4 separate regions of the Homo sapiens genome follow, and regions 1, 3 and 4 are each linked to region 2. The links are contacts of gene promoters, found by promoter capture Hi-C in blood cells and fetal thymus (Javierre and others, 2016). All regions are on one chromosome and are shown on one strand. Each heading gives the region's core, a stretch centred on a gene start or on the middle of the fragment in contact. The rest is flanking DNA. Distances are from core to core; before and after follow the strand shown.

The links. The method cuts DNA at HindIII sites, captures the fragments that hold promoters and counts their contacts. A CHiCAGO score of 5 or more calls a contact.
Region 1: a fragment that was not itself captured here is called in contact with the fragment with the promoter of C4BPA in region 2 in 17 of 17 cell types (naive CD8 T cells, total CD4 T cells, M2 macrophages and 14 more); the score reaches 16.0 in naive CD8 T cells.
Region 3: a fragment that was not itself captured here is called in contact with the fragment with the promoter of C4BPA in region 2 in 11 of 17 cell types (monocytes, neutrophils, M2 macrophages and 8 more); the score reaches 10.9 in monocytes.
Region 4: a contact is called between a fragment that was not itself captured here and the fragment with the promoter of C4BPA in region 2, in 14 of 17 cell types (naive CD4 T cells, total CD4 T cells, M2 macrophages and 11 more). The highest score is 10.5, in naive CD4 T cells.

What each region holds. Positions count from the first base shown.
Region 1 is chr1:207,403,523-207,408,882 of GRCh38, forward strand. The region is part of intron 1 of LOC124904498 (a long non-coding RNA gene); the gene reads right to left. Among named protein-coding and RNA genes, the nearest start is that of CR2, 48 kb to the right of the region's middle. The HindIII fragment of the contact is 3,763 bases long and covers 845-4,607 here.
Region 2 is chr1:207,100,832-207,106,159 of GRCh38, forward strand. It overlaps C4BPA (complement component 4 binding protein alpha), which reads left to right and starts at 3,402. Exons shown (of 12, transcript NM_000715.4): 1 at 3,402-3,599. The HindIII fragment of the contact is 2,080 bases long and covers 1,547-3,626 here.
Region 3 is chr1:207,370,220-207,376,006 of GRCh38, forward strand. No RefSeq gene overlaps it. Among named protein-coding and RNA genes, the nearest start is that of CD55, 51 kb to the left of the region's middle. The HindIII fragment of the contact is 4,216 bases long and covers 1-3,493 here.
Region 4 is chr1:207,386,113-207,391,798 of GRCh38, forward strand. No RefSeq gene overlaps it. Among named protein-coding and RNA genes, the nearest start is that of CR2, 65 kb to the right of the region's middle. The HindIII fragment of the contact is 5,948 bases long and covers 1-5,537 here.

The DNA.
Region 1 (5,360 bases), core at 1,476-3,975, 300 kb after region 2:
TATCACAGTAAAAATTGGGAATAACAATTGGATAAACTTCAACATAATAAAACTCAGAAAATATAAAGAAAAATAATAATGTAATATTAAAAATTATGTGGCAAAAGTAAATGTAAGCCAGAGAGAAAATATTTGCAACTGATTAATAGTCAATATAAAATGAATTCTACAAACTGAAAAGAAAAAGACTGTCAAATAAAAAATTGGACAAAAATGAAGCAATAGACAATTACAGAGGGAAAATTGCCTATAGCTAACAAATATATGGAAAGAAGTTTAACCTTACAGGCATTTAGAGATATGAAAATAGAAAATTATAAATTAGTCTCTATTAATCAGATTGGCAAAATTTTAAGCATTCAAAGTTGAAAAGATTTTGGTAAAACAAAGGTATACATCAGTGGTAGAGGTATGAATTTCTACAATGGAAAGTAATTGGAAAGTAATCTGGCAGTTTCTGATAACATTTAAGTATATATAATGCTTAACCTATAAATCTCACTTTTATGATACACATTCTATAAAAATATAGATACATATAAGTGTACACATACATATATGCATGATATAGTCTGGATATTTGTCCCCACCCAAATCACGTATTGAATTATAATCTCTGATGTTGGAGATGGGACCTGGAGGGAGGTGACTGAATCATGGAGCCGGATTTCTCAGGCATGGTTTAGCACCATCCACTTGGTAGTGTTCTCATGATAGTGAGTGAGTTTTCATTAGATCTGTCCATTTAAAAGTGCATGGCACCACCCCACCACCACTCTCCCTTTTGCTCCTGCTTTTGCCACGTGACATGTCTTTTCCCCCTTTGCCTTCCACCATGATTGGAAGCTTCCTGAGGCCTCTCCAGAAGCAGATACGCTATGCTTCTTGTACAGCTTGCAGAACCATAAACCAATTAAACCTCTTTTCTTATAAATTACCCAGTCTCAGGTATTTCTTTATAGCAATGAAAGAATGACCTAACATAGTACATATATAAGTACATCATCACATATATAAAACATTTTCATTGTAGACAATAAACATATAAATAATAAAGGAAATTGTCCCTAGTTTGAAGATAACCTTGAATCTATAGAGTGAATAGGGTCACAGACTTTCAGACAGAATTGATAAAGCAAATACATCTACCTAGGATTATTCTGGAAAAAAAAATCTCTGAATTCAGAGGCAGAAAGTTGTACTTTATAGAAGTTTTCGGTTACTAGGTTTATTAGATCTTTTCATGTTCCTTAATAGAAAATACATTCTTCACACTATTCTAAAAACTATATATATACTTTTTTACATTATTTTGCTTTTATAACTTACTGTCTTCTGCTACCCAGTTCCAGAGATTTGAGGTATAAATACGCCATCTAGAAGGCACTTGGAACCTTCACAGCTGACAATAGTTCACATTTCTGAAATACTAAAAATTCAAGCAAGTGTATCAAAATATCAAAGAAAGTTATCACATTGTATTGCTAATGAATATGTACTTTTTCATATATGGTTATTGGAGGGTAAGGTATTTTTTTCTTTTAAACAGCTAAGTGGACTTTGATCAGTTATGGCTATGTCTCCATCTAGTGGTAGGTAAGTACTCTAAGGATTTGCACAGTAAGTGAGGCCATTGTCACACTGAAACAGCTGAGGTGCTGAATACATAGGAATTCTGTGGTTTTTATTGGGTACACATCATCAGGGTCACCACAATTTGTCTTTTTTTTTTCTTTTTGAGACAGAGTTTTGCTCTTGTCACCCAGGCTATAGTAGTGCAATGGTGCAATCTTGGCTCACTGCAACCTCCACCTCCCGGGTTCAAACAATTCTCTTGCTTCAGCCTCCTGAGTAGCTGGGATTACAGGCACCTGCCACCATGTCCAGCTAATTTTTGTATTTTTTTTTTTTTTTTTTTTTTAGTAGAGACGAGGGTTTCACCATGTTGGCCAGGCTGATCTCGAACTCCTGACTTCAGATGATCTGCCCGCCTCGGGCTCCCAAAATGCTGGGATTCGAAGTGCAAGCCACCACACCTGGCCTTGCTTTTAATACAGGATGAAATAATATTTTCTGCTGATGATAACTTGCATTTAAATTCCTACTTGCAAATTTAGTAACATCAAGTTTTTGAGGTATTCACAAAGTCTTTTCAAACATTAACTAAAATTCAAAAGTTTAAATATATATTAAAAAAACTAGTGGCCCTTATTTATGGATTAGTTAGCTACATAGGCCTCTTATCTGTTCTTCCTGAACTTCAGAGCCAAGACTTCTTATCCACACTTATTTATAGCCCTCAGACCTTTTTAAATATGAAGTCCCAGGTATAACATTTATATACCTTTGTGATGACTCTCCATTTACTAACTGAACCTTTTGAGCCTTCATTCTGTCATCTGTAACAATGTCAATAAACACTTCACAAACCTATAATACTTTCTGCATTTATATACATTGTCTCATGTAATCCTTCCCACCACCCCCTGAGGGGGATAGAGAAAGTGTTTACTGTCTCTATCTTATGATGAGGAAGATGTAGTTCAAAGAGATCTTATAACTCATCCAAACTCAATAAACTGACAAATGGCAGAGCTAGAAATTTATATTAGATTTCTTGATTCCAAGTTCAATGTTCTTTGTAAGATTTGCCCCATTTACAACTATGATGATTAAGGGAGCTAATGTTTGTATAAATGCTTAAGTCCAATAGAACCATAATTTATTGTAAAATTACATAATAAAGATAATGAGGTCCCTGAATGTGAGACACTTATGGGGAGATCAGAGAATCCTTCATAAAAGCATATATATCAGGCTGAATTTAGCTGACCCTCAAAATGAAAATTCTCCAGAAATCTGAAGCCTATATAATCTATTAGATATATATTTTTCTATCTTCCCACTCTCTGTGGCCATCTTCTTAAAACATTACTAGGTGAATTATTGCTAAGTTTTCTTACATAAATTAGATGAACAACAAGAAAAAAGCTACATAACTTAACAAACGTATGTCTTAGTAGCAAACAACAACAACAAACCCAAACTAACTGAATGCCTGTATGTGTTGGTTGTGTGTATAAGGCGCTGTACGTAAGAAGTGTGTATGTTGGGGCTGGAGTCTGCTATAAAGAACAGTAATGTCAGATTCTTTCCCTTGAAGTTTTTGTTTCCCCTTCTCCGCCACTTCCCTTTCCCATTTCACTCTATTCCCATCAAAAGGATTCTGACTTGCATAAAACGACAGAACCACAGGAATGGGAAAGGGAAATAAAAACGGAGTCACATTTTTTTGCTCCTGTTTCATGACATCTGCACAAGTCGCCTTCCAGTCTTTAATTTCAGTGGAACCTTTAAGTACTTGTTATATGTCTTTGTAGAAAAACAGATTTCGACCATATGCTCTATGCAGAAGGGAAGCTGAATTGCAACCTCAATTTCTCCTAATTTCTGCCTCCTGACCACCCCCTCCCCACCCAATCCATGAACATCTTTACAAGTATCAGAAGCAGGCCAGGCATAGTGGCTCATGCCTGTAATCCCAGCACTTTGGGAAACCAAGGTGGGAGAATTCCTTGAGGAGGGGAATTCAAGACCAGCCTGGACAACATAGAAAGACCCAACCCCCTCCGCCGCCGCCCCACCACAAGAAGTTTTTTCTTTTTCTTTTTCTTTCTTTCCTTCTTTTTTTTTTTAATTAGCCAGGCATGGTAGTGCGCATATGAGGTCCCAGCTACTGGGGAGGCTTAGGTAGGAGGATTGCTTGAGCCCAGGAGTTTGAGGTTAAAGTGAGTTGTGCCACTGTACTCCAGCCTGGGCAATAGAGTGAGACCCTGTCTCTAGAATAATAATAATAATAATAAGAAGAAGAAGAAGAAGAAGAAGAAGAAGAAGAAGAAGAAGAAGAAGAAGAAGAAGAAGAAGAAGAAGAAGAAAAAGAAAAAAAGAAGAAGCAAAACCCAAAGAGCTAATCTCATACTTGCTCTCTTTCTTTTCTGCCACTACAGAAAACAGAAGAGGACTAGAATTACTTGTGGTCCTAATAATCTAACCAGGCATACTCAAAACTAATCGCAAATGTTTCTTTTAGGATGTATACAAGGCCTAAAATTGACTTTGGAAACATTGAGTATCTTCCCTTCCCATCACAGGCAATAAACAAATGTGGGCTGGTGCACATCTTTTCCTGCCCCTGAAAAGGTTTTATTACCTCTGGACAAGTGATTTCCTAACCTGAGGTCAATATTATCTTAATCATATTTCACAGATAGGCCAATGCTTAGCATATTCTCCAAATCACAAGAAATTTTGAGTTGTACTTAGAAAAGACATTAGGTTGAGTGTCAGGAAATCAGATTCCAGCCCCAGCTGTCATTGGCAGATATGATCCTGGGTGGGTCATTTACCACTCAGGACCTTAATTCCCTCTCTTGAGAATTTAAGAACTTAAAGTAGAGAATCTCAAAGCTGTCTGCTAACATGACTATACTTTAAGCAAGAACTGGAAATGAGTTGCTGACCTTTCCTTCATAGTTCCTGGTAGTGAAATGAATCAATTCTATTGAGCAATCATTGCAGAAGAACCTGCTGTGAAGATAACTGATGCAAGCTTGTTAAAAGCTCTTCCAAGAGTGGATCCCACATTTCCCTTACATTTAACGTGTCATTTAACATAGTTAATCTTTGTTTTCTCAAGAGTGAAATGGATAAACACTCAACTTCAGAGGTGTTTTTTTCTGCCTCTTGAGAATCACAATTATCATTGCTGGTCTTCCTTTTTCTTTTTCTTAGTAAACTTTAATCTAGATTTTAAAGTTTCATGGAAATAGATATTTGGGTTCTTTCAGGTTTTTTTCTGATATACAATTCAAGTTTTTTCCTTTGAGGTACTCTTCTGGGCTCCCTGTCTGAAAGAAGAGTTGCCTATGGATAGAACGTTGCTCTCTGTCCTCAATTAGCCAACAAAGCCCATCAAGGCTGCCCTGCTCAGTGCTAAGGCCATCTCGCTCCCAAAACCTGCCCTCACCCCTTGCTACTTGTCCCTCCAGTGATCCTGGATCCTTTTGGAGAGAGGTTGTCCTAAGAGCCCAATAGAGGAATCAGGCACCCGGATCAGTTGTTTCCCTGCTGTGTTCCCTAAGTTAATGTCATGCTCTCCTACACCCACATTTTTGTCCCTCCACACTTTTACAAAAACTCTCAAAAACAATATCCAGAGTGCCATGGTTTCCAAATGATTTATTCCTTTGCAGAAGACCCCAAGAAGTCCCATCTTCTTCAGGGAAATCTGGGACAATCCAATTGCATAAATTTCCAGCTAGGGGTATCTAGGGATTTTCTTAAAGCAAGGAGTTATGAAG
Region 2 (5,328 bases), core at 2,152-4,651:
GCACAAGACATGTACACACGTAGCATTATTTTAGAGTGGTTAGAATGAACTAAACATTTTCAGACAACAGTGGGCTATGAGAGCTCAGATGAGAGGAGGTTCACTTCTGTCTGGGAGGAGGAGGCAGGAATATTGTCAAGGAAGAAGTCACAGTTATTTGGGCCTTCAAAAGTAAGTGAGAATTAGAGACAAAGATTAAAGAGCTCATTCCAGTTGGAAAGAATATTTGAGAAATGGAGTAAGACAATAATAAGATTTAAAACCAATTTTTTTTTTTGAGATGGAGTTTCGCTCTTGTTGCCCAGGCTAGAGTGCAATGGCGTGATCTCAGCTCACCACAACCTCTGCCTCCTGGGTTCAAGCGATTCTCCTGCCTCTGCCTCCTGAGTAGCTGGGATTACAGGCATGCGCCACCATGCCCGGCTAATTTTGTATTTTTAGTAGAGACGGGGTTTCCCTATGTTGGTCAGGCTGTCTCGAACTCCTGACCTCAGGTGATCTGCCCGCCTCGGCCTCCCAAAGTGCTGGGATTACAAGCATGAGCTACCACGCCTGGCCAATAATAAGATTTTTAACCAAGTAAATTCATTCCTAGGATTAATCTAACTGGAGGAAAATGATTTGAAATTGAAGCTACTTCTTATTTGTACATATTATCTATCTAGGAGGATCTTATGAGCATTTGAAATGTCTACTCTTAGGAAAATTTTGAATAAATTATGGTACTTTAAATGTAATGCAGACCTATATGGTGATAAATATGAGGAAGTAGAAAATCTTAAAAATACAATCTTAAGTAAAAATAGAATATTTAATAACAAGGGCTTATGATTGCATTTATGTAAAACCTTTATTCTTGTGGGAAAGGATTAGACAATAATAGGCACAGATAAAAACATTTGTCTTAGAATATGAAATTATAAGTGTTTATTCTCTTAAAACTTTTTAATGTTGTAAAATGAATTTCTAATAATAATTTTAGAAGGCATTGCACAGAGGCAGAAAAAATGGGATATGTTTAGGAACTTGCACATAGCCTGGACTGGCCTAGATGAAGCATGGAAATTGGTGAGAGAGAAGGTGGCTGGAAAGATAAGTCAAAGCCAGTTTATGGAGGCTTTTGAATGACGTGCTAGAGAATATACACTTGTTTTTGGTAGGCAGAGAATATACATTTGTTTTTTGGCAGTCAGACCATGAAGACATGGAAGCCTTGCAAACAATGAAGTAATAAGGACAGAACATAAAGAAAGATTTCTCTCACAATGTTGGTTGTAGTATTGGTTGATGAGGGAAAAGAACTAAGAGAAACCAACGAAAGGACTCCTACAATAGTCCATATGGGAGGCATTATCAACCTGAACTGGTTTGGTGGCAGCAGAAATGAAAAAGCAGCAGCAGACACGAGAGATATTGAAAACTTGTATCAAAACAACCTGTCAACTAATCAAACATTGAAGGGTGAGGGAGAGGAAGAGTTCAAAAGTGAATCTGAAATTTTATTCCCGAGAACCAGAGGTCAGAAAAAGCTGGGGTCAGAAAGTGAAGCTTGTTGGCCGGAAATGAGAAATTCCTCTTTGGATGTGCTGAGGGTGAAGTGCTTGCAAGATGTCCAGTGGGGGGAAAAAAAAAACAAAACCTAAGAAAGTAAGTCTTGAGTTTCGGAGAGTAATCAGAAATAATAATGTAGTGCTGGCTAGTCTTCTTACTGGTAATAGTTAAAGCTGTGACAGAAGGCAAGATCATTAAAATTGCGAAGATAATTTTTTTAAAAAAAGAAGAGCCTGAGATATATCTATATTTAGGAATGAGAAGGAGGAAGAGAAGGTAACAGTAACTAAGAAAGAGAAATTAGTTAAGTTAAGGGAATCAGGTAAGTTTAGTGTCATGGAAGCCAAAGGAGAAGAGAGTTTCAGAAAGGAAATGATCAGCAGTGACAAAGGCTGCAGACAGATCCTAAGAAATGAATTAAAGATATTTTGGACTTGGACCTAAGGGCGTGCCTCAGAGAGACATGTCAGTAGAAGAGTGGTAGAAGCCAGATGGGAAAGCAACAGGTGGAGTGATGAATGAGAAAGAACAGGCAGGTAGAACAAGTCACACCTTTGAGAAGTTCAGCATCACACTAAAGAAGAAAGGTGGAATTTGAGGTATTGGCAAAATTGAAGGGACATTTCAGGATGAGAGATGCATTGAAAATGAGGCAGGAAAAGAAGAAACAATTCTCCTCGGAATGAGGAGTGAATAGGAGGGAAAATTTGACATTGATGAAGCTAAGGTAGAATGATTTTTAGTAAAGTAGGAGGTAAGAGCATCTGCTGAGAGGGAATGTGACAATTTGGTGACCTGGAGAGAAAAATCTGCAAGAGTCACTGTGGAAAGTAAACGAAAGGACTTCAATACATTGGAAAACGGTACTTTAAAGAAATAGCAGCTTTAAAGGTGATATTTCTTCCAATTTAGTCTCAAGACTGTGCAATCTGGAATCCTCCTCTATCTTCATTCTGGTCAAATCAGTGTCTCACCTTGGTGACCTAGCGCATGGTTTCTTTACATCTAATATCCTTACCACTTTTATCTAATAATTTCTACCTTTTATCCAAATCTCACATCTTCTGTAGAAACTTCCTTGATTAACTCAACCTGTTGTAGTTTAGTTCCTTTTCTGAAACTCTTCTGGGACTTTCAGTATTTATTACAGAAAAAGTGAAGTTCTCAGAAAGAATTGCCTTTTAATAGCAATCTTCTGAGCACACAAATCTTAACCTTGAGGATTAGTAGCTTAATTGGACTATGTAAGTGCTTGTGGTCTTTTTAGATCTATGCGAGAGGAAACATGGCCGGTCCTTCATTGCGTTCTTCTGAGCGCACTGGATAGATCAATTTTTGGAGGCCCTCTGGTGCCTGACATGTAGTAGCAGTTAACATTTGCTGAACTCCAAATACGTTCTAGATAACTCAGCACATAGTGGAAACCCAATGCATGTTTGATAAATTCCCCACCTTTTGTAATTCCTTGGGGTGGGATAGAGACGAGCTCTGGGCAAGAATATCAGTTTTCAAACTCCAGGAAAGCATACTGGACCTAGTGTCATGGAAAGTGGATCATTTTTGCGGAGGCTCTCTGAACCTCGCAGTATCCAAGGTTTCCAGGCTAGCTGGACTGTGTCTTGCCATAACCCTTATGTGTTTATGAAAAGAAAAAAGAATTCTGGCTTCAAATTCAAATTACCTTTCCACTTAGGGGAAATGGTTGGCAGAGGAGAAAATAAACGATTGCGACATGTTACGAAGAATGAGGACTAGCAAAGAGGAAGGAGCTTAGGTAAACAGTGCTGCTTTATTTCTGCTGTTAATCATTCATTGGGCCCGTCAAAAGTTTCTGCCCATCTATTTCCATCAACCGTCCTTGACCAGCCAACCACATGGCTGAAATTCAGGGACTCTTTGGTGGAGCAATTACCAGTCAACTTCAGGGTATTATGATAAACTCTGATCTGGGGAGGAACCAGGACTACATAGATCAAGGCAGTTTTCTTCTTTGAGAAACTATCCCAGATATCATCATAGAGTCTTCTGCTCTTCCTCAACTACCAAAGGTCGGTGGACTACTAAACCCTTGGGGAAGCTTGGAGGAAAGGCTGGTGGTTTGGCCCTTTAAGGAGTGCAGGATTAGAAGGATAAAACAGAGACAAAAGCTTGGAGGTGTTTTCAGCAGAAATCTTTTCAGGAGCACTGTATTAGGGGGATGTAAGACTTGAGACGTACTTTAAACCCTATCTGAACCTCAAGTTTTAAAAATTATAAATGGAGGAATAATATTGCATTCTAATAAAATAAGCTAAAGAAGAAGAGGTGTAAGGTGTTGCTCTTGTTACTGTATCTAAAAGACAGATGTGTTGGTTTGTTGATCTTTCACCACCTTCCCACATCAGAGTTGAGGCAAGGGGTCAATCAGACTTTTCAAAGGGTTCACAGGAAGCTTGCTTTTCTTAGTCTACATTCTGAAAACTGGGGCCATTTCTATTTTGAGATTTGATTAACCACTCCAAATCTCCTCCACCACTGACAGCAAAGATGTTTAGATTTGGTAATAAGGAGGACACTGGCCAGCCTCCAGTTGGTTTCTGAAGCTAGCAGTCTTAGTCGTCCTCATCTTCTTTACTTTCTGAATTTGACGATGCTGATAACCCTTCCTTCTTGAAATTCTCTTCTTCCTTGGTTGGCCAGGATACAGTACCATTCTGGTCCTCATTTTAATTCTTCAACCACTTGTCTCTTTGCTGATTCCTATTCTATCTCTAAATATGGTAACACCAAAAGAATAAAAAGTAGACTACAGAAGAGGCAGAAGCATCAAAGAAGGTTGGCATTAAGCTTAGAGATATGTTTGAATGTAGTATGAGCACAGAATAAAGGGGCTGATAGAAAAATAAAGAGATTTGGCCAGGTACGGTGGCTCACTCCTGTAATCCCAGCACTTTGGGAGGCCGAGGCTGGCGGATCACCTGAGGTCGGGAGTTCGAGACCAGCCTGACCAACATGGAGAACCCCTGTCTCTACTAAAATTACAAAATTAGCCAGGCATGGTGGCACATGTCTGTAATCCCAGCTACTTGGGAGGCTGAGGCAGGAGGATCATTTGAACCAGGGAGGCAGAGGTTGGGGTGAGCTGAGATCGTGCCATTGCACTCTAGTCTGGGCAACAAGAGTGAAACTCCACCTCAAAAAAAAAAAAAAAAGAAAAAAAAAAGAGATTCTAGGAAGGGTGGGGAAAGTGTGGGAGCCAGTTCTTTCTGGAGTTTGTAAGTGATATAATTGAGAGCCCAGGTATAAGGAAGAAGACACTCAGCCCGAGACTGGAGAAAAATACTATCCTTTCACAAGGTATCTGCATTTTAAAAGGGGGAAGTTAGACAAAATAAATATTAACTTAAAAAGTAACTTCTCATGGAAGGAGAAATTTGAGGACTAAAGATTTTTCCAGTGACTCTCAAATTGCACTGCATTGCTAAGTGCTGATATTATTTTTCACAAGGGACCCGCCATGCTGACTAAAGTTCTTGAGTTGGTTCCATTTCTGCAGGAATTTAAAAGGTGAAGTCCTTGAAATATGAAAGTTGGCTAGAGTAGTCTCAGCTTTTCAGTGAGCAGTTACAGAATTGCAGAATTTGTTCATCTAGGTTTAATGTCATTATTTTAGAGATGGAGGGAACTGATATCCAAGAAGCTGATATAGCTTCTTCAAGATCACAGACTTAGACTGTGGTATTGCTGGAACTCCAACTTGTGTCTTCTCAGCTCGCAAGTTCTAGCCTCCATTCCCAT
Region 3 (5,787 bases), core at 136-2,635, 270 kb after region 2:
CATCAATTTATAACTCCAATAGATATTTTTAAAAAGTGATTCCAAATTTATATTAAAATGAATTGCCTCTCTTAAACCTCCCTTATAATTTTTTTAAAAGATTTCAGAAGACTAAACACTATATTACACAGACTCCATTGAAGCTAGGAGTCTAGGAGAAAATTTGATCTACAACGTAACAAGCAGTTATGTGATATTTATTTGGAGGTCAGAATTAAGGTGTAGGTCAACTTCCTACTGCTGCTTCTATTTCCAGCAAGATAAGATCAGCCACAGGTGATTGTGGTGGTCTTTTTCTACTTTCATTTATCTAGTCATCAACTTTATGGGAATAAAAATCTGCGGTAGTGTGTCTGGAATTGCTGGGTTCTTGGTCTCGCTGACTTCAAGAATGAAGCCGCAGACCCTCACGGTGAGTGTTACAGTTCTTAAAGATGATGTGTCTGGAGTTTCTTCTTACTGGTGGGTTTGTGGTCTCGCTGACTTCAGGATTGAAGCTGCAGACCTTCACAGTGAGTGTTACAGCTCTTAAAGGCGGCGCGTCTGGAGTTGTTTGTTCCCTTCAGTGGGTTCGTGGTCTCGCTGGCCTCAGGAATGAAGCTGCAGACCTTCGTGGTGAGTGTTACAGCTCATAAGGGTGGTGCGGACCCAAAGGGTGAGCAGCAGCAAGATTTATTGTGAAGAGCAAAAGAACAAAGCTACCACACAGTGGAAAAGGACCCAACTGGGTTGCCGCTGCTGGCGGGGGCAGCCTGCTTTTATTCCCTTATCTGGCCCCACCCACATCCTGGCGATTGGTCCATTGTACAGAGAGATGATTGTTCCATTTTACAGAGAGCTGATTGGCCCATTTTACGGAGAGCTGATTGTTCTGTTTTGACAGGGTGCTGATTGGTGCGTTTAGAAACCTGGAGCTAGACAGAGTACTGATTGGTGCATTTACAATCCTTTAGCTAGACACAAAAGTTCTCCAAGTCCCCACTAGAATAGGTAGACACAGAGCACTGATTGGTGTCTTTACACACCTTGAGCTAGACACAGAACGCTGATTGGTGCATTTACAAACCTTTAGCTAGACATTAAAATTCTCCAAATCCCCACCTGACTCAGGAGACCAGCTGGCTTCTCCTAGTGGATCCTGCCCTGGGCAGAGCTGCCCGCCAGTCGCACGCTGCGGCGTGGGCACTCCTCAGCCCTTGGGCAGTCGATGGGACCAGGCGTGGCAGAGCAGGGGGCAGCACCCATCTGGGAGGCTCAGGCCACGCAGGAGCCCACCGGTAGGGGGGCTCAGGCATGGTGGGCTGCAGGTCCCGAGCCCTGCCCCGCAGGGAGGTGGCTGAGGCCTGGGAGAATTTGAGCGCGGCACGGGCGGGCCGGCAGTGCTGAGGGACCTGGCGCACCCTCCACAGCTGCTGGCCCGGGTGCTAAGCCCCTCACTGCCCGGGGCTGGCAGCACCAGCCGGCTGCTCTGAGTGTGGGGCCCGCTGTGCCTTACCCACCCAGAACTGGCGCTGGTCTGCGAGCGCGGCATGCAGCCCCGGTTCCTGCCTGCGCCTCTCCCTCCACACCTCCCGGCAAGCAGAGGGAGCCGGCTCCGGCCCGGCCAGCCCAGAGAGGGGCTCCCACAGTGCAGCGGCGGGCTGAAGGGCTCCTCAAGCATGGCCAGAGCGGACACGGAGGCCGAGGAGGCGCCGAGAGTGAACGAGGGCTGCTAGCACGTTGTCACCTCTCAGTAGGAGAGCGATTGTAGCAGCAGCAGATTCCTGAACTCCATGATTTCGATGGTGTGATCCTGAAGTCAGTTGTTCAGAGGCAGTTCTCTAACATTTCCAGCTTTCTTTCAAAGAAACTAAGAGGGATTTTTGTTTTCTTCACTGAAATTTGGCTAATCCAATATTCCACAACTCTTAACTATTTTTATTTCAGTTTCCTTCCCCTTAGCTAATCAATTAAGTTAATCCACTAAGTTCATCAGTGCCTTCCAGTCCACTGATTCTCTCTCAACATTCACTTTTGAAAGGGCCATGGAGGAAAATGAACCAGGAAGATCCTCCCTGGGGCAGAGCTACCACACTAGAGGCACACAGTATTGAGTATAATGAGACTTACAGAGAAGAATATAGCAATCTGGGGAAGCAGACCACACTTACTGAAAGTAGCACTGCAGAAGTAGTGTTTATTAATTTAGATTGTAATTTGAAATTGCCACATTATTCATTTCTAAGATTTCAAATTGCTTTATATCTGACAGTTTGTACTTCAGACCTGCCTATTTTTGTTTTACAGGTCCTATTTAGTTACTAATGGATATTGATCCTTTATTTCTCAGATTTGTTTTGATATGTTTATCACATTTTTCTATTAAGAGAAATTCCACTTAGAGTCAGTTCCTTTCCAAAGTTGATTTTGTTGGCTCTCTCTCATGGCATTGCATTTCTTCACATTTTACAGTTGTGATTTGCAAGTTTTTTAAGTAGACTTTTTAGTTTGTTTCATTCTTTGGTAGATTGTATTAATGTTTCTAATTCTTTACTCCTTCCCTTTTACAGAATTATAACTGGACATCTTTTGCCAGGTGACTTTTCAGTGCCTTCCACTATAGTAGATGGAATATACTTCCCCACTCCATTGAGTCCATTTTTTGTTGGCTAACCTGTAGTTTTAAGATTGTAATTTTTTTAAATCTAGTTACCTTGATTGCTTTTTAGAGAGCTATTAGTCCCAATAACTTAGACCACCATTATTTAAAAATGGAATTCCTAACCACAATGTGTGCACCTCATCATAGGAAGGAACACAAATGGGGGAGTAGAAGAAAACAGAAATGTATTAATAGGCGACAGTGAGTACTTCAGCTTTATGTGTAATGTTTTATTTCTTGTATTACAAAGTAAAAGATATGAAGCATTTGACTAAAAATGTTAATTTATATAATTTGAATGATGGGTACATGGGCAGTTGTTATATTTATATATACTTTTATGTATTCTAAATTTTTTTCTCAAAATAAAAAAGAGAAACAGTCAAGGGTTAGTATTGTGTCATCAAACTCATTACAGACCTCAATTCATTTTGTTTTATTTATTTCTGAACAACATAATTTGAGGAAGTAAAGCATACTTTAAGGAAATCTGTAGAAGGGCAAAGTAAAAGCATTTGAAAAAGTCTCATCACCTGAAAAAGGCAGAGAAAAAAAGAACAAAAGGAAGAAGTGTTCTAGAGGTCTCATCTAGTTTGTATAGGGAAGAAAGTTGAGGTAATACAGCTGTGTGGGAAAAGGGATAGATTCATATATACTTGTTCTTGAGAGCAGACATGTTGTTAACAATGAATGAAATGGAAACACACAACTAATCTTTGAAAGAATGAGATGAACCTGAAAAAAAAAACAACAAAAATAAGAAAAAAAGGAAATAATGATTTAAAATAGATAATGAAGAAACTAAGATACAGACATTAAATAAAATGTAAATGGATTGTTTTCTTTCACTAAAGCTTAAAGATTAGAAAACAAAAGCTGTGTATGAGGGACATGGTGAAATAGTAAAGAAGGGTGGAAAATAAAAGATAAGCAAAGATAAAATGTAAGGTCAGACCAATTATAAAAGGCAAAGATTTATGAAAAAGGTAACATTCATAAATATGTATATATCAAACTACATGCAACTAGCTAAATACATAAAGCAAAGTCATTAGGAATTTGATAAGCCTAATAAAATATAATTATGACTGAAGATTTCAATACATCTCTACCAAAATCAAACAGATTTTGTAGAGAGAAAGAAACCCAGGACAGGGAAAAACAACCTTATATTATCTAGAGACAATATGTTGGCTTTCCTCTACACTAAGACATTTTGATACTGGTGCTTTCTTGATTTCTTGATCTTACCAGAACATGTCAAGTGAAGGTTTTACACAACTACAATGCCACTCCTATGGGCTGACAGCTGTAAAGAGATGCATCCCAATTCTAGAGATGTTAACACGTGAGAAAAATGTTTCTTAGAATCAAAGATATGAGGGGTTTTTCCATACATCAATGAAACATTTGCTCAAAAACGTCATATACTTGGCCATAAAGTATATTCACTTTTTTAAAAGGCCGTGTTGATAAATATGAAAAAGAGAGAAGGTGATCAACAAAATCTTAACCACTTGAAAATTAAGATGCTCCTAGATCACCCTTATATCAAAGATAAAATTTAAAAAATTAAAAACTATTTAGGAAAGAGTGAAAAGAAGAACACACTAAATTATTTGGAACACAGAGAACTTTTCAGTGGAACTTGCAAGCTTTAAATGCCTTCGTTATTAAGGAAAACATTAAAAATAAAGGAATTTGAACTCATCTGTGGAAACTAAAGAGCAACAAACTAAATAAAAAGTTTTAACATATTAGTCAAGATACATATATAAACATAGAATATCAAATAAAACCTGACACCTCAATCTAAGGTCTGTAAAAAACTTTAAAACAAAGATTGGAATCGTAAGAGTTAAAGAAATATAGACATTTTTGACAATGCAAAAAATGTAAATAATGGTTAGAAAAAGTGGAAATAAATTGCTAAAACACAAAAGAGAGATTAATGGTTTGTGTCTATAATAGACAAAAAGCTCTTACATTGATAGGTAAATGACATAAAACCCAATACAACGTGGACAGGTATACTGATAGGAAATTTTTAGCAAGGTAAATCAGATTGATCAAGAACATATGAAAAGATGTTGACATTCACTAGGAGTCAGAGTAAAGAAAATCAAAATAATTTTCCGAGGTGTGAAGTATTAGAATGAACACAGAATGATGGCATTTCAGGGCTAAGGCTGGAAATGGCCCCTCTAAGTTGCCATGGGAACTGAGTAAACCTGGTCTTAACCATGTATTGGAGAAGGAATCTATCCACAAACCAAGGAGGAGTGTGGGTGCGGGTTGGGACCGGGCTGACCAAAGGCCGCCGGAGAGGAGGAGGCCTGGGGATCACAAAATGCTTGAGGATGGCACTGCGTCCTGGGTCTGTACAGTATGGTTTGCAATAAAACTCAAAATCTTCCAGCCGAGATAAGAAAAAAAATAATTACAAATTACATGAATACCTACCTAGACAATCCAATTAAACTCTAACAAAATATGTTGGATTTAACAATGGACCTAATATTAGGTAAATAGTGACAATAATAAATTGGATATGACAATGCAAAAATAATCCTGTTTATGAGTGATAATCATCTTAAAATATCGAAGAATGTAGGTACCCAGGAAGATTCTTCAAATATGTGAAGGAACTATTCACATTTCTTTAAAAATTGTAAGAACAGCTCTGAAAATTTAAGGTAAGTCATTTCCTTGTTGAAAAATGTGAAAATAACTAGTCATCACAAATTTAAAAATAAAATCAATGCAATTCCAAACAAATTCCAATGAAGTTTTTGTTGAAGTGAGCTGGACAAAAGATAATGAAGGTTTGTATGTGTGAAAGAAATAATTCAATTGTATTATTGATTATATAAGGAAAATTCATTATTTCTGAAAAATTATAATTTACTTTAATCATTAGCTTTTTAATCATAAGTGTTACTACTATATGAACAAAAACAGGTGAGGTTGTTATTCATAAGTCCAAGAAATGACGTTGAATTTTGTTAGTTCTCAAAAAAAAAGTAACTTTTAGGAATGAAGTTCATGCAGTGTTCTAATTTATAAAACAAACATTAGTTTTCAGTCAACCATTGGCATATGATATGGTACCCAGATATTCTAATTGTAGTAATTTTTTAGTGCTA
Region 4 (5,686 bases), core at 1,314-3,813, 280 kb after region 2:
TATGAGTAGATGTTTAACTGTTACTTTATTTTTATGTGAGATGCTGAATTCTGTTGTTGGTTTCCTGATAAATATTTCTTTTTTATTTTTCAGATTATCATATCTTCCTTTACATTAATTTATCAGACTTAGCCTCTTCTTCTGCTGGTAGTATTAATCTCAAGGACAAAGTCAAAAGTATTTATAAGGATTCAAAGAGGTGCTCATAGAGCTATTGAGAAATTTTTTTTAATTTCTTCCTAGCATTTAGAAATATTCTACTTTAAAAGGTAAGATAAATAAAAGAAGAGATGAAAAAGGAGACATTACAACCAATACCACAAAAATTCAAAAGATCATTAGAAGGTATTATGAGCAACTGTATGCAAATGAATTGGAAAACCTGAAAGAAATGGATAAGTTCCTAGACATATATACCTACTGAGATTGAATCATGAAGAGATAGACCACCTAAATAGGCCAATAACAAGTAATAAGATAGACACAGTAATAAAAAGTGTTCCATCAAAGAAAATCCCAGAACCTTATGGCTTTCCTGCTAAATTCCACTAAACACTTCAAGAAGAACTAATATCAATCCTACTCAAACTATTTCAAAAAATTACAGAGAAGAAAATACATCCAAATTCATTTTATAAGGCCAGCATTACCCAGATATCAAAAACAGACAAAGATACACAACAATGAAAAAACAAAACCAAATGCCAATATCTCTGATGAACATAGATGGGAAAACTGTCAATAAAATACTCGCAAACTGAATTCAACAACACATTATAGATTATTCATCATAATCAAGTGGGATTCATTCCAGAAAAGCAAGGATGGTTCAATATGTGCAAATCAGTAAATGTAATACATCACATCAACAGAATGAAGGAAAAAATGATTTCAATAGACACCAAAAAAGTATTCAATAAAATTTAACATTCTTTCATGATAAAAAAATAAAACTCTCAACAAAGTGGGTATAGAAGGCAAATACCTCAACACAAAAAAGGCTGTATGTGACAAACCTGTAACTAGTATTATACTGAATGGGGAAACACTGAAAGCCTTTCCACTAAGGTGTGGAACAAGACAAAGATTTCCACTTTTACCACTTTTATTCAACATTGTAATGTAAGTCTTAGAGCAATTAGGCAAGAAAAAGAAATGGCAGTTAAATAGAAAGAAAGAAATCGACTTATTCTTACTTGGATATTATCTTATAGTTAAAAAAGCCTAAAACCTTCACTAAAAAACTATTTGAACTAATAAACAAATGCAGTAAAGTTACAGGATAGAAAATCAATTCACAAAAAATCAGTAGCATTTCTATATGCCAACAGCAAACAAGCTAAAAAAAGAGAGAAAGCAATTCTATTTACCATAGCTACAAAAAAACCCATAGAAATCTACTTAAAGAAGTGAAAGGTCTTTACAATGAAAACTATAAAACTCTGATTCAAGAAATTGAAAAAGACATAAACATATGAAAACATATTCCATGTTCATGCATTAGAAGAATCAATATTGTTAAAATATCCATACTACACAAAGCAATCTACAGATTCAGTGCCATTCCTATCAAAATATCAATGATATACTTCACAGAAATAGGAAATACAATCCTACAATTTATATGAAATCACAAAAGGCCCAGAATAGACAAAGCTATCCTGAGCAAAAAGAACAAAGCTGGAGGCATCCCATTAGTTGGCTTCAAATTATATTTCAGAGCTATAGTAACCAAAACAGCATAGTATTGGCATAAAATCAGACATGTAGGCCAATGGAACAGAATAGAGAACCCAGAAATAAATCCTTGCATTTACAGTCAATTCATTTTCAAAAAAAGGTGCAAAGAACATACGTCGTGGAAAAGACAGTCTTTTCAGCAAATGATGCTAGAAAAACTGGATATCCATATGCAAAAGAATGAAACTAGATCCCTATCTCTCCACATATACAAAAATCAAATCAAAATAGATTAAAGACTTAAATCTAAGACCTGAAGCCGTAAAACTACTAGAAGAAAGCGTTGAGGAAATTAATTGAGGCAAAGATTTCTTGAGTAAGAGCTCAAAAGCACAGGCAATGAAAGCAGAAGTGGACAAATGGGATCATATACAGCTAAAAAACTACACAGCAAAGGAAACAGTCAACAAAATGAAGAGACAACCCACGGAATGGGAGAAAATATTTGTAAACTATTCCAATGACAAAAGATTAATAACCAGAATATATAAGGATCTCTAATAACTCAATAGCAAGAACCAAATAACTGGATTTAAAAATGGGCAAGAGATCTGAATAGTCACTTCTCAAGGGAAGACATATGAATGGTCAACAGATATCTGAAAAAATGCTCAACATCACTAATTATCATGGAAATGCAATCAAAACCACAATGAGTTACCCCAGTTAAAATGGCTTTCATTGAAAAGACAAAAAACAATGAATGCTGGCGAGGATGCAGAGAAAGGAATGCTGATACACTGTTGGTGAGAATGTAAGTTAGTACAGCCACTATGGAAATCAGTATGGAGTTTCAGCATGGAAAAAAATAAAAAACAGAACTACCATATGATCCAGCAATCCCACTGCTGGGTATATATTCAAAAGAAAGAAAATCAGTATATCAAACAGATACCTGCACTCCTATGTTTATTGCAGCACTATTCACAATAGCCAAGATAAAGAATCAACATAAGTGCCCATCAACAGATGAATGGATGAAGAAAATATGGCACACATACACAATAGAATATTATTCATCCATAAAAATGAATGACATCCTGTCACTTGCAACAACATGGATGGTAATGGAGGTCATTGTGTTAAATAAACCAGGGACAGGAAGAAAAATATTGCATGTTGTTGCTCATATATGGAAGTTAAAAAAGTGATCTAATGGAGGTAGAGAGTAGTCACTGGAGGCTGGGAAGGGTATTGGGGAGGGATGATAAAGAGAGATTGGTTCATGGCTACAAAAATACTGTTAGATAGAAGGAATAAGATACTGAGTTCAGTAGCACAATAGTGAAAATATCGTATATTTAAAAATAACTAGAGAAGTGGATTTGGAATATTCCCAACACAAAGAAATGATAAATGTTTGAGGTGATGGATATACCAATTACCCTGCTTTGATAATTATACATTGTGTTCTTGTATCAAAATATGACATGTACACTATAAATATGTACAACTATTATGTATCTATAAAAATCAAACATTTTTAAAAGGTAAGAAATAGTTCTCATTAAAAATATCACTGAGATTATTTTTCCATTATAAATTATGTTTCAAAGAACCCAACACAATAAGAACATTCAAAACTCATTTGCAACTTCTGTGGAGGTTTTATCTCTAACCCTCTCTCATTTATTTTATCATACTTTTCTAGCTTTAAAACATATTTCCTTTAGATGTCCTGGGATAAAAAAGACAGAGGTCATGTACCCGTTTTGCTTTATATTTAATAAATCTAAATAGAATCAACTGCTAATCATTTCCTTTTACACCTAATGCTTTTATATATACAAAATTATTGGATCAAGGCAAAGGATTCTATAAGGTAGGGAGTGATTCCCTAAGTTGGGCTGTGTATCAGTGTCACTTCTTCAGACATACAGATGCCTGGTATAAAAGTTGGTCACATGAATTGGGTCATTTTTATCATATCCAACTAAAACAGTCAATTGGCCAGGGGGAAAAAGCATTCAGAACACATAACATTGATCAAAGAATGCAATTCTATGCAAGCCTGGTTGCTGAAACTGCCTTCTGTAACCTGAAATTGGTTTTTCTAATTACTGAAACAACCTGCTGTGACTCTAAGACTAGTTTTACCCAAGGCTGTCACTCACCAATCAGAAGTTGCCAGCTCCCCCAAACTTTACTAGTGCCAATAAACTTTCCTACAAAATAATATGCAACATTTCTCGTTTTTGTTTTTGTTTTTTTATAAAACCTCTAACCTCTTTGTTTTACAGACATACCATGGACCACCCAGTCTGTGTGTATGCCCCAAATTATAAGTCTTGCTTCCCAAATAAAACATTTTAAATTTAGAGATTCATCTCTAGTTTTATTTGACTTTGACACTAGTCATAGATCCAGATCACCTGAGTTAGATTTTCCAGTGGTGAAAAATAAAAACTCATGATGTGTCACAGGTGACTCACATATAGCCAAGTGTGAGAGCCACTGTTTTAGACATGAGTATATGCACAGAATGAGTAGCTGCTTACATGTAATGAGTATATAATGAATAGCTGTTTAAATGAGTAGAATGTTTTAATGTCTTCTATTAAAGTCTGAAATATTCTGATAGATTTACCAGAGGTCTACCTACTCTAATTTCTGGATACAAGATGCTGAATTACAATAAATCAGTATTTATGATGTCACTGTAATTGAGTTTGAAATCTAATTAACTTTACATTTTTACATTTTGCCAAATATTGCCAAGTCTATTTTTAACATTAAATGCTCCTGGCTCAGTGATATGGAGAAAAATAACATCTTAAATCATTCAGTAAAACCTAATTATAATTTTAATAAATACATTGTCACTTTTATCAAAGTAGGTTATTCACTAAAATTTTAACCTTTATTAGTTTGCTTAGAATCTTAATGAAATAATAAATCAAATGTAGTATTTTACATCTTAAAATTTTTAGTATTTAAAAAATCTTGGAAGCAATTAATATAAGAAATTTTTATATGTTGACACCAATGGTTTATAATTATTGGATTTTATTTTTCTTGACATGATTATAATAAAAGAAACTTAGTAGTAGTGATCTTCATTGTTGTAGTTGCGGATTTGTTAAAACTCCTTTCTGGTAGGTAAAATAAATCAGCCCATTTTAGCTTTAGGAAAATTCAATGTATATGTATGTGAAGGGTGTTTTATAAGGATATAGGAGTCTCACAGACCCCACTGACAGTACTATAGCTGCCTTCAGATGGGCAGTGGAGCCAGGCCCTGGAAGGCAGTCAGGGTCTTCTCTGCATCTTTCTTCTTTTTTCTCTTTGGGTGCCTGCTTACATTTTTGTTGCTTGTTGTTGTTGGTTTTTTTTTTTTTTTTTTTTTTTGTCGTTCTTTGGACTGTTCTGCTACATTGTCTGTATACAGCAGGAGACATGATAACCAATTGTTTCCAGGTGTTGCATTTCTATTCAGGAGATACATCCAGACAGAAGCTAGAATCTCTTAGACATAGCCAAATTCCAGGAATTTAACTCTAGTACTGGTCAGTGAAGGGCCAAGCAACCCTGAAGTCAGTTTCTATGGCTAGAGTCATAAGGTCATCATGAAAAAAAATTTCAGCCAGAATCCAGTCTGGTAACCTTGTAGATTGCCTAAGTCAGTTTCCAAGGAAGAAGATTACTGGCAGAAAGTTTAGTAGATGTCCACTTGTATTAGTCTGTTCTCACACTGCTATAAAGAACTACCTGAGACTGCATAATTTATGAAGAAAAGAAGTTTAAATGACTCTTAGTTTTGCAGGCTTAACTGGAAGCATGACTGGGAGGCTTCAGGAAGCTTACAATCATGGTGGAGGGTGAAGGGGAAGCAAGCACATTCTCACATGATGGAGCATGAGAAAGAGAGCAGGAGCAAGGGGGGAAGTGCCACACACTTTTAAAACCACCAGATCTCATGAGAGCTCACTCTCTATCATGAGAACAG